Linked DNA regions of Homo sapiens: region 2 is linked to region 1. Evidence: promoter capture Hi-C in 16 types of primary human blood cells and fetal thymus (Javierre and others, 2016). All regions are on one chromosome and are shown on one strand. The core of a region is centred on a gene start or on the middle of the fragment in contact, and the rest is flanking DNA. Distances in the headings are between cores, read along the strand shown. Region 1 holds the start of GPC5 (glypican 5). Region 2 holds the start of DNAJC3 (DnaJ heat shock protein family (Hsp40) member C3).

Region 1 (6,604 bases), core at 1,582-4,081:
GCTGGGATTACAGGCATGGGCCACCACACCCACCTAATTTTCATATTTTTAGTAGAGATGGAGTTTCACCATGTTGGCCAGATGCTCTCGATCTCCTGACCTCGTGATCCACCCGCCTCAGCCTCCCAAAGTGCTGGGATTACAGGCGTGAACCACCGCACCCGGCCGAGGTTTTTTATTTCTCTTTACAAGGTCCTAAGTTGACAAACTATAAACATATAAACAGTTACATAGAAAGTATCAGGGAAGTTTTGGATTTAGAATATTACTAAGCTGTATTTTAAATAATGACCATTTAAGGATTCTCCTATCCAAGGGTATTGGTATTTTGAAAGCAAAGCGCAATGCCTATTATATAAAAGACATTCAATACATTTTTTAAATACATTTTGTAAAATAAGGCATTATAACTATCAAATTATGGACAGTTTTCCCTAGCTTCATTTGTAATGTTTACCAGTAAATTGAATAAAAGGCTAGTTATGGTATAATTTGCAGAGGTTGCTCTAGAATGTTCTTATAAAAGGGATCGTGGCATTGTGTTCTGGGTGGAACTAGAAAACTTGTCTTGAAGCTTGGTAGCTTCAGTAGCAGGCATACTGTTGCCTTGCGTGGTGGGCTTAGGGATGCTAATAGGACAAGATGCCCTTCCAGGCCACATGCTGGCTCATCCACTTTGCTAGCAGTTATGGATAAGAGGTAGAAGGAAAATATATTTATTTTTTGTTAATGGGGATATTTTATACAGACTAAATATATTCTTGTTAGTTCCTATGGCATTTCTATAAATGACCTCCCACCTGTTTTGTTAACTTATAAAATCACTGAGAAAACTTGCTTGTGTGTCTCTTTAAACTCCTGTTAAGCCTAGAATAGCGGTTAAAAAAATTGTATGTTTTCAACCAATATGTATTAGTCAATTAGCTTTTACTGAACCATCAATACTCAGTTGTGTTTATGATTTTTATCCTTGCAAGACACACCGTTTTAGAGATTCCAGTTAATGGGATAGATGGTAATTTAAGGATCTTTTTGATGCTAAGAGTCTAAGATGATCAAATCTATCAAGGAGAGATCTTGGTAACAATAAAGATGTTTTAGAAAAACTTGGGAATTTATTAGCCTTATATAGAGATACACATAATTCCAGTAGAATACAGTTATATAGATAGAAATTATGCATATTTACTAGTAAAAAATCTGCTAAATGAATAAACAGCCCTTGGTGTTGCTGCCCAAAGGCCTTTGGTGAAACCTGATGGGTTTTTCTGTACCACAGAATAGTCAAGGAGAGCCTCTGGAGAAGAGCATGCGGTCTGGATTTGGAAGCCTCAGTTTGATTTCTGGCTTTGTCACTTACCTTAGGCATTCAGTAAGTCACTTCACCTCTGTGTTCCTGTTTCCTCATCTGTAAAACAATGATAATAGTAGTAACTACTTTATAAGGTTGTTATAAAGATTACATGAGTGAATTCATTTCCATAAAATACTTAGAATATTATCTGGCCCATAAGCACTATATACATTCTCATGGTTTTTCTTGTTTCTTTTCATAGATATAGGTGGCTTCCAGACAATCTTTCCATACTTGGTGGTTAGAGCAGAAGAGATTCATGAAGAGCACTGCCCTTTGAAACAAAATCTCATATTCAGAAAACTGATGCCAAACACCAAGTAGCATGATTTCACTCTGAAGCAGTGTTTCAGCCATTGCCCTGGAATGGTTTTAAAGCAAGTGATATACTGCTGAAAGTGCTGCCTTTGATATTAAATGTTCATTAAAAATCTTCACTAAGACATAAAGTTTTTCACTACTATCTCTTGGTAAGGGTTCAAATTTGAGATGAAATTCCTTAAAGTGGTTAAAGCATTCATTGTCCCCTCTGCCTGATGCTTTTAACTAGTTTATTTTACAGAAGGAGTACTCTCTTCAAGTGGCTGTAGATTGAGACACTCTTACAGGCTTAGTTGTTGAGTCAACCACATTTAAAAAATGCACCTGCCCTTTGGTTTATGGTGCGTAATGCATTCCTCTCATAAACTGTAAATTGACAAAATTCCTTTGCCATTTTAAAATTGCTTAAAGTATTTATTTTTCTATATTCCTTGTAAGGAACTCCCCTGAGCACTCTTAACTTAATTGCTCTCTGAAAAATATTTTAAAGAAATTCCAGAAGTGGTAAAGCTCAGAGGAGCCCCACAAATACAAAGTGCTGAAGTAAAATATGATGCTAAATGGTGATAAGAGACTTAAAACTAGATTTCATTGTGATAAGAATGTGATAAAGTTTGATTGTAATTCTTATACCTCCTTTCAGAAAATCATGTTATAGAAAAATGTTCCTAAGCAGTAAAACAAAGCCATTTTAAAAAATAACTTCTCATGTGCACTCTTTAACAACCTAAGTGTTATGAAGTCTCTCAATTGAGATCTTTAACCGTAAATAGTTTTTGCCTTTTGTATTATGTCCAGATCCTATTTAATGCAATTAGAATACAAATTCCTATGTACTGAGGACCTTGATTACATAGATGAGATATTTCTTAGTTCCAGTTGGTGTTTCTCATCTCTTGTCTTCTCTGACCCTATTTATACATTCTCTGTTTTTATCAGATGATTCTTCCCCAGAACGGACTGGGAGAGCGAGGTCCGGGTTTCCTTCTATTTATTTGCATCGATGTCGCTCCGAGTCTTCAGCACTGGGCCGCGTATGACAGCATCTTAGTGGGTGCGGAGCGGGACAGCGCGCCGGGGGCGTGGCAGGGGCGTGGCCTGTCCGCGGGGCGGGGAGTGCGGGGCGGGGCTTCCGCGGAGCGCAGCGAGCGGGCACATCCCAGGTTAGCTGCTGCGAGCCGAGCCGGGCGGCGGAGGCGGCGGCGGCGGCGGCAGTGGCGGCAGTGGCGGCAGTGGCGGCAGCGGCAGCAGTTGCAGCAGTGGTGGCCAGAGCGGATGCTTGCGGGCTCCCTGCGGCTCCACTAGTTTTCTTCGCCCCGCCCAGCCGCCCACTCTTCTCGGCTAGGGAAGAAGACCAGAGGGTGCTCAGCTGGAAAACTCTGGTGTCTCAGCTTAGGGCCTCCTCCGGGAAGAGCTAACTGCTCCCAGGTGAAGCCGGTGCCCGCGGGCGGTCCGTACACCCCGCAGCCGGCTCGCACCGCTCGAGAGCCTCGGCCGCTGTGTCTTCCACGTCTGCAGCTCAGCCAGGGCGCGCAGGGCGAGTGGGGTCCACTGGCGGGTAAAGGGGACCAGGACGGCGAGGATGGACGCACAGACCTGGCCCGTGGGCTTTCGCTGCCTCCTCCTTCTGGCCCTGGTTGGGTCCGCCCGCAGCGAGGGCGTGCAGACCTGCGAAGAAGTTCGGAAACTTTTCCAGTGGCGGCTGCTGGGAGCTGTCAGGGGGCTGCCGGATTCGCCGCGGGCAGGTAAGGGGCAATGAGGGGGTCTCTGGACTGGCGGCGTCCGAGCCCGGCCTTCGCTCCCCCAGGCTCCCTTGGTGGCACTCGTGGGAAGATGACCTTTCGGGCCCTGCAGCCGCGCAGGGTGAATCCCGGGGAGGCTTCCGGGGATGCTTGGTGCGGGTAGCCTGAGTGCAGCGCAGCGCAGCTCTGGGGACCCCTAACCAAGCCTGCGACGAATCCCCGTTCTGGGCATCTGCTTCCCGCCCGGCTCCCTTCGTCTTGGAGGATGAGTTGGAAGGAACCAGGAAAGCAGACATCAGGGCGTGGGGGACACGCAGTCTAACTCCGTTTCTCTTCCGAGTAGGAATTTCCCCAGTGCCCCACCGGGGATTTCGGTTTACTGCTTTCTCATAAGGTGGAGGGAATTGAATTGATCGCCCCAAGTTTGGTACTAAAAATCACAAACCTGCGATATACCCCTTTGCTGGAGAATGGGGCACAGACAAGGGCAGCCGGTCTCCTCTGTAATTAGGACTTGGACCCTGTGCACCCAGAGACGTGACCCTTAGCTGCCCTTCTGTGCCCTCGTATCAAGCCCTGCTTGGAGGAAACCCAACCACCCAGTGTGTCTCCCAGCACCAAGGTAGTTTTTAGCCTGAAAAGTGTTAGGGCAACAGGCGATCAAACCGAACGTACTGGGGAGTCACTTGACATGGATGAGATGTACCAGCGTTCCAAAGGGAAAGATACAGTTTGTGTGGCCAGCGTGGATCTTGCTTCCTGTGAGCGCCTTTTGCCTGTGCTTTCGAACCCTGCTCCCCGTTTCCACCGCACCAATTTCCTTCTGCTGGTGGGAGTTCCAGTGTAGGTTCTGTCTGGAAGAATAGGTCATAGCTGTCAAACGCAATAGCAGGTGTCTAGAGCTAAGTAAGATCTCACTAGAGCCATGCACCCCTTTAGCTGTGACTATGAAGCCAACACAGACGAATCTGTGAGGTTACTGGTTGAACAAAGAACTTGTGGAGGACGCTTAAGTCTAAAGTCCCGAGTTTCCAGGGTTGGGGGACTTGCTTGTAGCAATGAGGAAGTGTGAGCTGTAGCCGCTTTTCTTGATTGCTTTGCTCAATTTTAAGTCATCCCAGAAAGAAAATCTAGGCATTCGGGAACACTGACTCCATTTGAGTTTACATGACCAGTCTTAAACCCAGCTATTTCTTTGTATACCTGTTTGGTACTAGGTGCTTTTTCTGTATTACTTGAAACAAAGTTGACATTCTCAGTTTAGGGCGATTCTTCTATCCCCAAATAAAATATCGCCTTATAGATCTGTATTTTTCTTAGTGCATTCTTTTCATTAGGAAATAAATCTCACTTTATTGGCTGCTGATAAAACTAAAGTGAGTTTGTGCGTGTGGGTGGTGAGGGTGTTATGATGTGAGATCTTTACCTGAATTATTAGATTTTTAGTCCCCAAATATGGTAACTTTGCCTGCTATGTTCACCGAATGTTGATGGCCAGCCCCTTCTCCCCAGTAAGGCCCTGATTTCACTCCACTCTGGTATCTCAGTATTTCTGGTATCTGCTGAATGCAACACATTGATTGGGTGTTCATCTCTTTTAAAGATGAACTTTCCAGAGTATCAGTCACTGAGACAGTGTCTTACCAGGATGTCAGGGAAAACTAAAGCTCTGTCCTAAGGAGAGGGAAATGACTGTAATTATTTGCATTTGATACACATGACACACAAAAAAGTTCCATGACGACAAGGAATCTTTCTTTTCTAAGTCACTCTGGATTGTTTCCCCATTGCTAGTAGATTTTTTAAATCTGTGGCTGAAGGTGATGGAGGAATCACGGGAGCACTCACAGAAGAGGCTTAGAGACATCAGTGGTACTGGTGAAAAGAAATGCTAAGTTCCTTTAATATTTTCACTAAGAAAAAGTCACACAAAAGTGCTATGCTGATTTAGATCCACCCCCCAAAAAAGGCATTCATATAGGAATTTGATATAATTCTGAAGTTTTGTGTCTGTATTGTTGGTCATTCTTTTACAAATAATTCAGCAAAATATTAAACTTTTTTAAACACTGATTCCTCTCATCTCTCTAAAAAAAAAAACCCCTCAATCCCAAATTGAGTAAACCAAACATACCACATGCTTAATAAATAATTTTCTTTCTTTTTGTATTTATATATGATCTACAACATTTAACATGATTGAATATGGTAATTGACTATCATATTTTCTAAGATTATCCTCAATCTCAAGAGAGAACATAATTTAGTCATTTCTCCATGAGAATACAAATAGTAATATCTTTTAACAAATCTATTCATTTAGCACATACCCTTTCACTGACTAAAACAAACACATTTAATTTGATTTTGTTTTTGGAAGTACGTATTTTTACTGCTTTCTTGCATTTCTTGTTCACAGTGGTTAATCCCTGAGATGTCTAGCCAAAACACAGTTTGTATAATATAAGCAGGTAGAATAAGTTTTTAGTTTCTTCCTACCTTTGTGACTTTTACTTTTTCTGATAAAAATGTTATCCAAATTGAAATTATTAAAATTGTGAGAGCAGTGATTTAAACTGTTTCTCAGATTCCCCTCACCTTTGTTCTCTACCCTGCTCCAATTCTTTTAAGCCTATTGAGCTCCTAAGGATGTTTGGATGAGAAATGTAAAAAAGGAGAGAAGGTGTAAATGTGATTAGAATTAGAGATTTCCCTGTGTTCCGATTTTATTTTCTAAGTAGTAGTCAAGGTGCCCTTTGCTCTTGTTTATTTTATTCAGAAAAGAACTGTTACTGAAAGTGTCTTTTAAAGGTCTTTTCATTTTTATTTTATTTATTGGGGATGGGGATAATGCTTTTCTATTAAAATTCTCTTTGCACATGCATTGTGCATTGTTCACACATGCAGTAGTTCCTCTTTTAGAGGGTAGTTCAGAAAGGGGAAGTTCATAAAAAATAATACATTTAGATAATTTATATACCAACTATTTTTTGAAATATGCATGTTTGTTGATATAGAAATCTATAGCAAGTATACTCTCGATATCAAGTAGTCTGTGAAAGTAACTTTTCCTTGGTAGATTTTGGCTATAAATAGAGTAATAAAAATAAACTCTTGACATGGCTAAGTGAAATTTTAATACTAAAAGACACTGTAAGCAGTGCTCTGAAGTTGTTGTTGTTTTTTA
Region 2 (6,604 bases), core at 3,031-5,530, 4.3 Mb after region 1:
ATTGTTTGGACTAGAATATAACTAGAATGTGTATGTAGCAATAGACATTTTAAAAACTCAAATAACCTACAATTTTCAAACTGAGAGAAAAAGAAGAACATCAAAAAGAGGAGAAAAGAGCTGGCTTAGGCAACTGTTATCTCTGTAAAGGGCTAATTCTCTTTCTTCTGCAAGGAAAGGAGATAAAATTCGATGCAGAAAAACTCATCTGTACACAAATACACAAAAGAGAGTCACTGCAGTTGATTTAAAAATACTCAGGCCCTTCACAATATTTTAAATAAACTTCTATTGCTGAAACAACTTTCAAGTAAGGGCATAAGGATAATACAGGGAGGTCCCAAATACCCCTTATTTTTCTGTATTGTTAGCATCTTGCATAACCATGGTACATTTGTCAAAACTAAGAAAGTAATAATGGTACACTACTATTAAACTTGAGACTATTCATATTTCAGTAGTTTTTCCACTAATGTCTATTTTCTCTAGGATCCAGTTCAACACAGCACACTGCATTCAGTCATCAATTAAGTTTCCTTAGTTTCCTCTGGTCTGTTACAGTATTTCAATCTTTCCTTGTTCCCCACGACGTTGATAGTTTTGAGGAATACTGATCAGGTGTTTTATAGAATGTCCTTCAATTTTAGTTTGATTTTTTTTTTTTCATGTTTAGACTAGATTGGGTTATAGGTTTTGAGAATACCACAGAGGTGAATTGCCCTTCTCATCACAGTATATTGGGAGTATATGCTATCAACATGACTTGATGATATTAACTTTGACCACCTGGCCAAGACAGTGTTTCCAGGTTTCTGTACTATGAAGTTACTCTCCTCCTCCCTTTCCATACTCTGTTCTTTGGAAGTTAGTCACTAAGTCCAGCCCACACTCAAGGAAGGAGGGAAAATAAGCTCCACCTGATGAAGGGGGACGTATTGTGTTAAGCTGAATAACGGTCCCCCAAATATGTTTACATTCTAATCTCCTGTCATTGTTCTATAGCAAAAGGCAGTTTTTGCAGATGTGATTAAATTGAGGAACTTGAGTAGGAAGAATATCCTGGATTATCTCAGCAGGCCCAATATAATTAATTACAAGGATCCTTGTAAGACGGAGGCAAGGTCAAAAATGACAGAAGGTGATGTGAATACAAAAGCGGAGATTATAGTCATGCGGCCAGAAGCCAAAAAACAACATAAAAGAGGGTGGAAAGCAGAGAAGACAAGATGTGATATAAAAGCCAAATTTTATATGAAGGTACCAAAATTTGATCAGAATCCCAAAATCCTTGAAAATAAACTGTAAATTTGACATATAAGGGTCATTTTTTGTTCCTCAGATTGGCAAAAACTGAAAATCAATTATATCTAGTGATGGTGACTAGGCAGGAATATAAACAGCTGATAGGAATAGAAATTATTCCTTTAGGGAAAGATAATCTGACAACGCATCTTAAAAGTTTAAACAAATTCTTTGATTAAGCAAGTTCAAAAACCTAGTTTTTTTTTTTTTTTTTTTTATAAAGTGTCACTCTGTTGCTCAGTCTGGAGTGCAGTGACATGATCTTAGCTCACTGCAACCTCAAACTCCTGGGTTGAAGCAATCCTCTGCCTCAGTCTCCCTGAGTAGCTAGGGCAACAGGCACGAGCCACCGCACCTGGCTAGTTTTAAATTTTTTTGCAGAGACAGGATCCTGCTATGTTGCTCAGGCTGGTCGCAAACTCCCGGCCTCAAATAATCCTCCCATCTTGGCTTCCCAAAGCGCTAGCATTACAGGTGTGAGCCACTGCGCCCAGCCTAGAAATGTTTCCTAGAAATAAAAGCACAAGTTTGTAAACATAAATGTGGAAGGATGTATATGGTGGCATTAACTTAATGCTGACTTTTTTGTTCTTAATTTGGCACAAAAAGGTGTTTATAAGTGCTCTACTTGTTTCTGAACATTTATTTCTCCTCATAGTTAATTCCTAAACAAATCTTATTCCCTTTACCTACAAAATATGTTCTAGATCTGTTCACTCCTCTCTACCAACATTGTTTTTCCTAGTCAATAAACATAGATCAACCTAATAAAAATTGCATAATACTCTTAATTTTGGATATATCATAAATATGCTACCATTGTTTTTTAAGTCTTTTGCTACTATAATTAACAGTATGAATTACAGTGGAGATTTAATGTTTAACTTCAAAAAGACTCCATAGAGTCTGACGAATGCAAACATATTTACAGTAACTTTTCTTACACTCACTAGATTACTTTGATTTTCGGTTTTATTGGCAAGAGTGATTCGTGAAAACCATGACTAGATGAACATTGGAGGAAACATTCCCAAGCATTAATCACTTAATTTTAGTTTTGTACATTTTTTTCTGTCTAATGTTACCTTTGTTGTAAAATTATCTTTTTTTAAGGAATGCTTTGTAAAGCTTAGTTCTAATATTACAGAATTCATAGTTATGTAATTAATCTCAAAATCACTCACCATTGAAGACCCTTGCTATTTTTATTTCCTATAACACGAAGTCTATTATCTCCTTAATAATTTTTAATTTCCATCCTTAGAACTTCTTCAGCTCTGCTACTTTTTCCTTAAGGCCAGGGTCATAGGCAGCACACTGGTGATAACTCACTGTCTAGAAATATTGCATTTTGTTTACAAAGTTATTTTCTATGTTCAGCATTTTGCTGGCTGCCTTGGGTACAGTACCTCAATTGAATGTCTACACCTGCATATTTGTGGACATTGAAATCATCTACCATTTTTCAGAGACACTACCTTGTGATATAAAAAAACAGAAGCCAAAAAAAAAAAAATCCCAAGGAATTTCTGAAGGAGCCTCTCTTCACTACTCTGCTCTTGTTAGAATAATGAGTAACACTGGTATAACATTCTACAATTTACAAGAATATTTATCTGCTTCATGAAACCTCAAAACAAACCTTTGAGACTATCAGGATCCTAACCACTTTACAGATGAAGATAACTTACATAATAGTTATGGGGTTTCCTGGATCTGACTCCTTTATTCTTCACATTACATTATGTTGCCTTCCCCACAACTAATCAAGGACTCCGTTTTTTCTTTTTTCTTTCTCGAAACCATTTCCTCCATATTAGTTCCCTTTGGAATAGAAGCCTTTTTAAAAGTCCACCTTAGTATATCTTCAGGGAATCACAAATTCACTATGCTATTTATAATTCATGAGTTTCTCTAATGGTATCAAGGCAGCAAATACAGGTGAAGTAATAATTATCCACCTGATAGTACTTAACACACATACCCCGTGTAAAAATACTGCTGGTGTACAGTGTGTGTGTTGGTGACGCCGGAGGAAGTGGCCGTGAACAGGCTTAATGCCGCATTGAGTAACTTCAACCTCATCTTGCTCAGGTTCATATCTCTCCTGAATTTCCCCTGGTAAGCGCAAGATTCAGGATCCGTTCTCACAGTTTTTTGTTTACCAGTTGATGTTGGCTGCATTCAGGAACGCCTTGCTCTCTTAAGCCACAGTGCCTTCCTGGTCTCTTCTTCACAGGGTCTTCCACAATCGCTCTTTTTCCTGGGCACGGTGGTTTGCTGAAAGTCGGGGTGGGGGGCGGGGCGTTCCCAAGTTTCCAGGCCAATTACCTACCTGCCTTAGAGCAATTACGCACTTCTCTCTGGTAGTCCCTGAAATGTTCTAATCATCAGATCGCCCCAGCTTCTCCTGACCGTTTCTTGCTTACGGCTCAGTTCAGACAGTATTTGTTCCGGGACGCTCAGCGGGAGGCGGTTTTTACCGGCTCACTCGAGACCCCAATTCCAGGCGCCCTGCAGCTTCCCTCAGACTCCCCGGGACCGTGTTTGGCCTTCCCATTCGTACGCTGCGGCTGCGCTTTCCTCTCGTAACACCACGCTGGCGAACCTGGAAAGGATCAAATAGTCCCACTCGCCAACCTAGCGCGGCGGGACCGGCCCAAAAGGGCCTTTGCAGCCTGCGCATGCGGACTCGGCGGCCGCCACCGACTCCCCGTCTGCTTCCCTCCGGGCGGCAGCCGCGGTTTGGAGCTTGCTGACAGCTCTGCGACCGGCGGGCGCAGCCTCGTCTCGTGCTTCCACGTTATCCTATCAGGGACGGGGCGGGGCGGCGGCCTCCGCAGCCTATCAGCGCGAACCACGACCCCGGCGAGCCCGGGAGGAAAGCCGCCAGAAAGAAGGCGATTGGATGGCGGCGGCGCTCTGGGGCGTAGCGTCGCCCGGGCCCCGCCCACCGCTGCCTTCCTCTGCTGGGCTCCAGAGCCACTGAGGCCTGAGCGAGAGCCGACGGCGGGCGGGCGCAGCTGCTGCCGGAGCGCCGGCGCGTGCTGGTGGGCCACACACCTTTCCTCCTCTTCACTCGCGAGCCCTCGGACATGGTGGCCCCCGGCTCCGTGACCAGCCGGCTGGGCTCGGTATTCCCCTTCCTGCTAGTCCTGGTGGATCTGCAGTACGAAGGTGAGTCCTGCCCTGCCCCGGCCAGGAAGTGGGCTCCCGGACCAGGCCCCCCGCGCTTTCCCGTCTGCGCCCGGGCGCCTGTCCCGGAGCGGCTCGGGAGGTGGGGCGAGCGCTGGGGGAGCCCGCGGCCTGGCTTGGGCCTGAGCCCGCGCCCGGTTCCGGGTTTGTCTGGGGAAGAATCGAGGGGACTGGCGGGCCGCGGGGCCGGGACAGCGGGTTTGGACTAAGGAACCGGGCCGCAGGAGTCGGAGGAGGCGGGGTGCGGGGGCACCGGGCTACGACTTCAGGAAGTCCTGGGACGCGGAGACTTGGGCAGCCTTTGGGTCCTGGCCTCGCTTGGGACCCTCGCTGGGCGCCTGGGGACACTGTCAGTCATTGGTGCTGGCTGGGAGGAGGCACTAAGGTGGCCAAAAGACTTCCTTCGCTCTGGAGTTCTTGGGTGGGGAAGGAGTGTCATGTCCGGCTGGGAGTTGGAGGGGACAGTGTTGACTATTTAAAAAGTGTGTAACCATCCCCATTAAGATGCACTGTCGTGTAGAGAAATTGTTAGTTTGGTGCAATGAGGAGCCGCTGTTGGAATTCCATCTCCCGGACGGCCAGGCACTGAGTTTGTGGTTTTACAACTCCCAACATGGTGTCATTCAACGTATGGCTGGCATTACTTTTCCAAGTTCGCTGTAAAAAGGTTCCCTTAAAAAGATACGAACGATTAAATTTCACTTCAGTCCTGCAGACTGGAATGTTGGCTACTCCAGAATAGCGAAAATAGAGGGCTGTCCTATCTTAGATGGCAGCGGGGAGGAGTAAGAATTAAAGTTGATAGTGCCGATTTAACGAATGCTTCTGGCGCGGTTACTGTGCGAAATATTCGAGTGTAATGACACATCACATGCACTGATCTATTTTCATCCCCATAAAAAGGGCTAGTTGTCAAGGAGGTCAAATTAAACCTTTGAGTATTCCATTCAAAGGGAGCGAGGAACTAAAAATTGGGAATTGTTTATAGTGAATTCTTCTGAAAGTTCTCAACTTTTTTTTTTAAAGTAGTACTCCCCAGTTTTTAGGTGTCACCCATAGCAATGGGCTTTTGCTTTTGCTTCCCCTGGTAACCATATTTTTTGAACCCCAAATCAGAACACGTAGTGTGGCAACATTGGGACAAAGAATTTGACAGTGAGGCTGCCCCCAGAAAAATCTAGGGGATTGGAATTTGAAGGTCTGTACCACTTTAATATGGGTCATATATTCTAGTTCTTTTGCATTTTCAAAAGCTTCATTCCTCCTGCCCCCGCACCCCACCATCCCTCATCTGTAGTATTTATCTCCAGTTATCATTAATAATTTATTTTGGACACTTAAGAGAAAGTTGCCTATGTTCTGTTTAATGGTGATTTTTTTTTTTAAGTTACAGAGATGCACAATTTTGAATGATTGCTTTTCCCACTACTTTTTAGAATTGCTGTTCTGTATATGAGTCTGTAAGGACTCTTAACTCTTCATTTCCCTCCTGTGGTATTTTCCATAAGAAAACCACATTTGAGAGCTTTTCTGTGTAGGAGGCACTGGTGACATTTCTCAGAGGAGTGCCAGAGTGTCTTCTTTAGGACCATTGTCTGTGTAAAATAGCAGGGACTTAGTACAGGTAACAGAAAAAGGAAAGAAAGGAGCCTTTCTGTAAGCCATATCTTATTCACGAAAGCGTGTGGTATTCATTCCTACTTTACAGACCAGGGAACTGAGGCTCCAAAGGTTTTACTAAAGTTCATTTTGTGTGCACGCTGGAGACAGAAGTTAAGTAGTTGACAACATCATGTGAGTCCAAGCACTTTTAAGTGATGGCAGCTGAGAAAAAAAATCAGCACTTTTTTTTTTTTTTTTTTTTTGTAATTAACAAGAAGGTTATTTCCTGGGAGGTTTAATACAGTGGTTCTCAAACTTGAGTGTGCATCAGAATCGCACATGGAGGGCTTTTTAAAACAGAGTGCTGTACCCCACTTACAGAGTTTGATTCATTAGGTCTTGATGGGACCTGAAATTTTGCGTTTCTAGAAAGACCCTGGATGACCACACTTGAGAACCACTGGTGTAATAAATTATATAGAGGAGTTAAATTAGGTGTCTGCTA

What was found. The method cuts DNA at HindIII sites, captures the fragments that hold promoters and counts their contacts. A CHiCAGO score of 5 or more calls a contact.
Region 2: the fragment with the promoter of DNAJC3 here is called in contact with the fragment with the promoter of GPC5 in region 1 in 1 of 17 cell types (non-activated CD4 T cells); the score reaches 5.1 in non-activated CD4 T cells.

The regions. Positions count from the first base shown.
Region 1 is chr13:91,395,790-91,402,393 of GRCh38, forward strand. It overlaps GPC5 (glypican 5), which reads left to right and starts at 2,832. Exons shown (of 8, transcript NM_004466.6): 1 at 2,832-3,420. The coding sequence starts at 3,258. LOC124903189 (a long non-coding RNA gene) reads left to right here and starts at 1,088. Exons shown (of 2, transcript XR_007063831.1): 1 at 1,088-1,372; 2 at 1,557-1,799. RefSeq lists silencers at 2,646-2,940, 2,647-2,916. The HindIII fragment of the contact is 9,875 bases long and covers 573-6,604 here.
Region 2 is chr13:95,672,859-95,679,462 of GRCh38, forward strand. DNAJC3 (DnaJ heat shock protein family (Hsp40) member C3) reads left to right here and starts at 4,281. Exons shown (of 12, transcript NM_006260.5): 1 at 4,281-4,479. The coding sequence starts at 4,398. It overlaps DNAJC3-DT (DNAJC3 divergent transcript), which reads right to left and starts at 4,067. Exons shown (of 2, transcript NR_132117.1): 1 at 2,994-4,067; 2 at 1-1,810. RefSeq lists enhancers at 3,371-4,218, 3,482-3,581, 4,219-5,065, 4,412-4,461 and silencers at 4,102-4,341, 4,572-4,661. The HindIII fragment of the contact is 3,320 bases long and covers 2,429-5,748 here.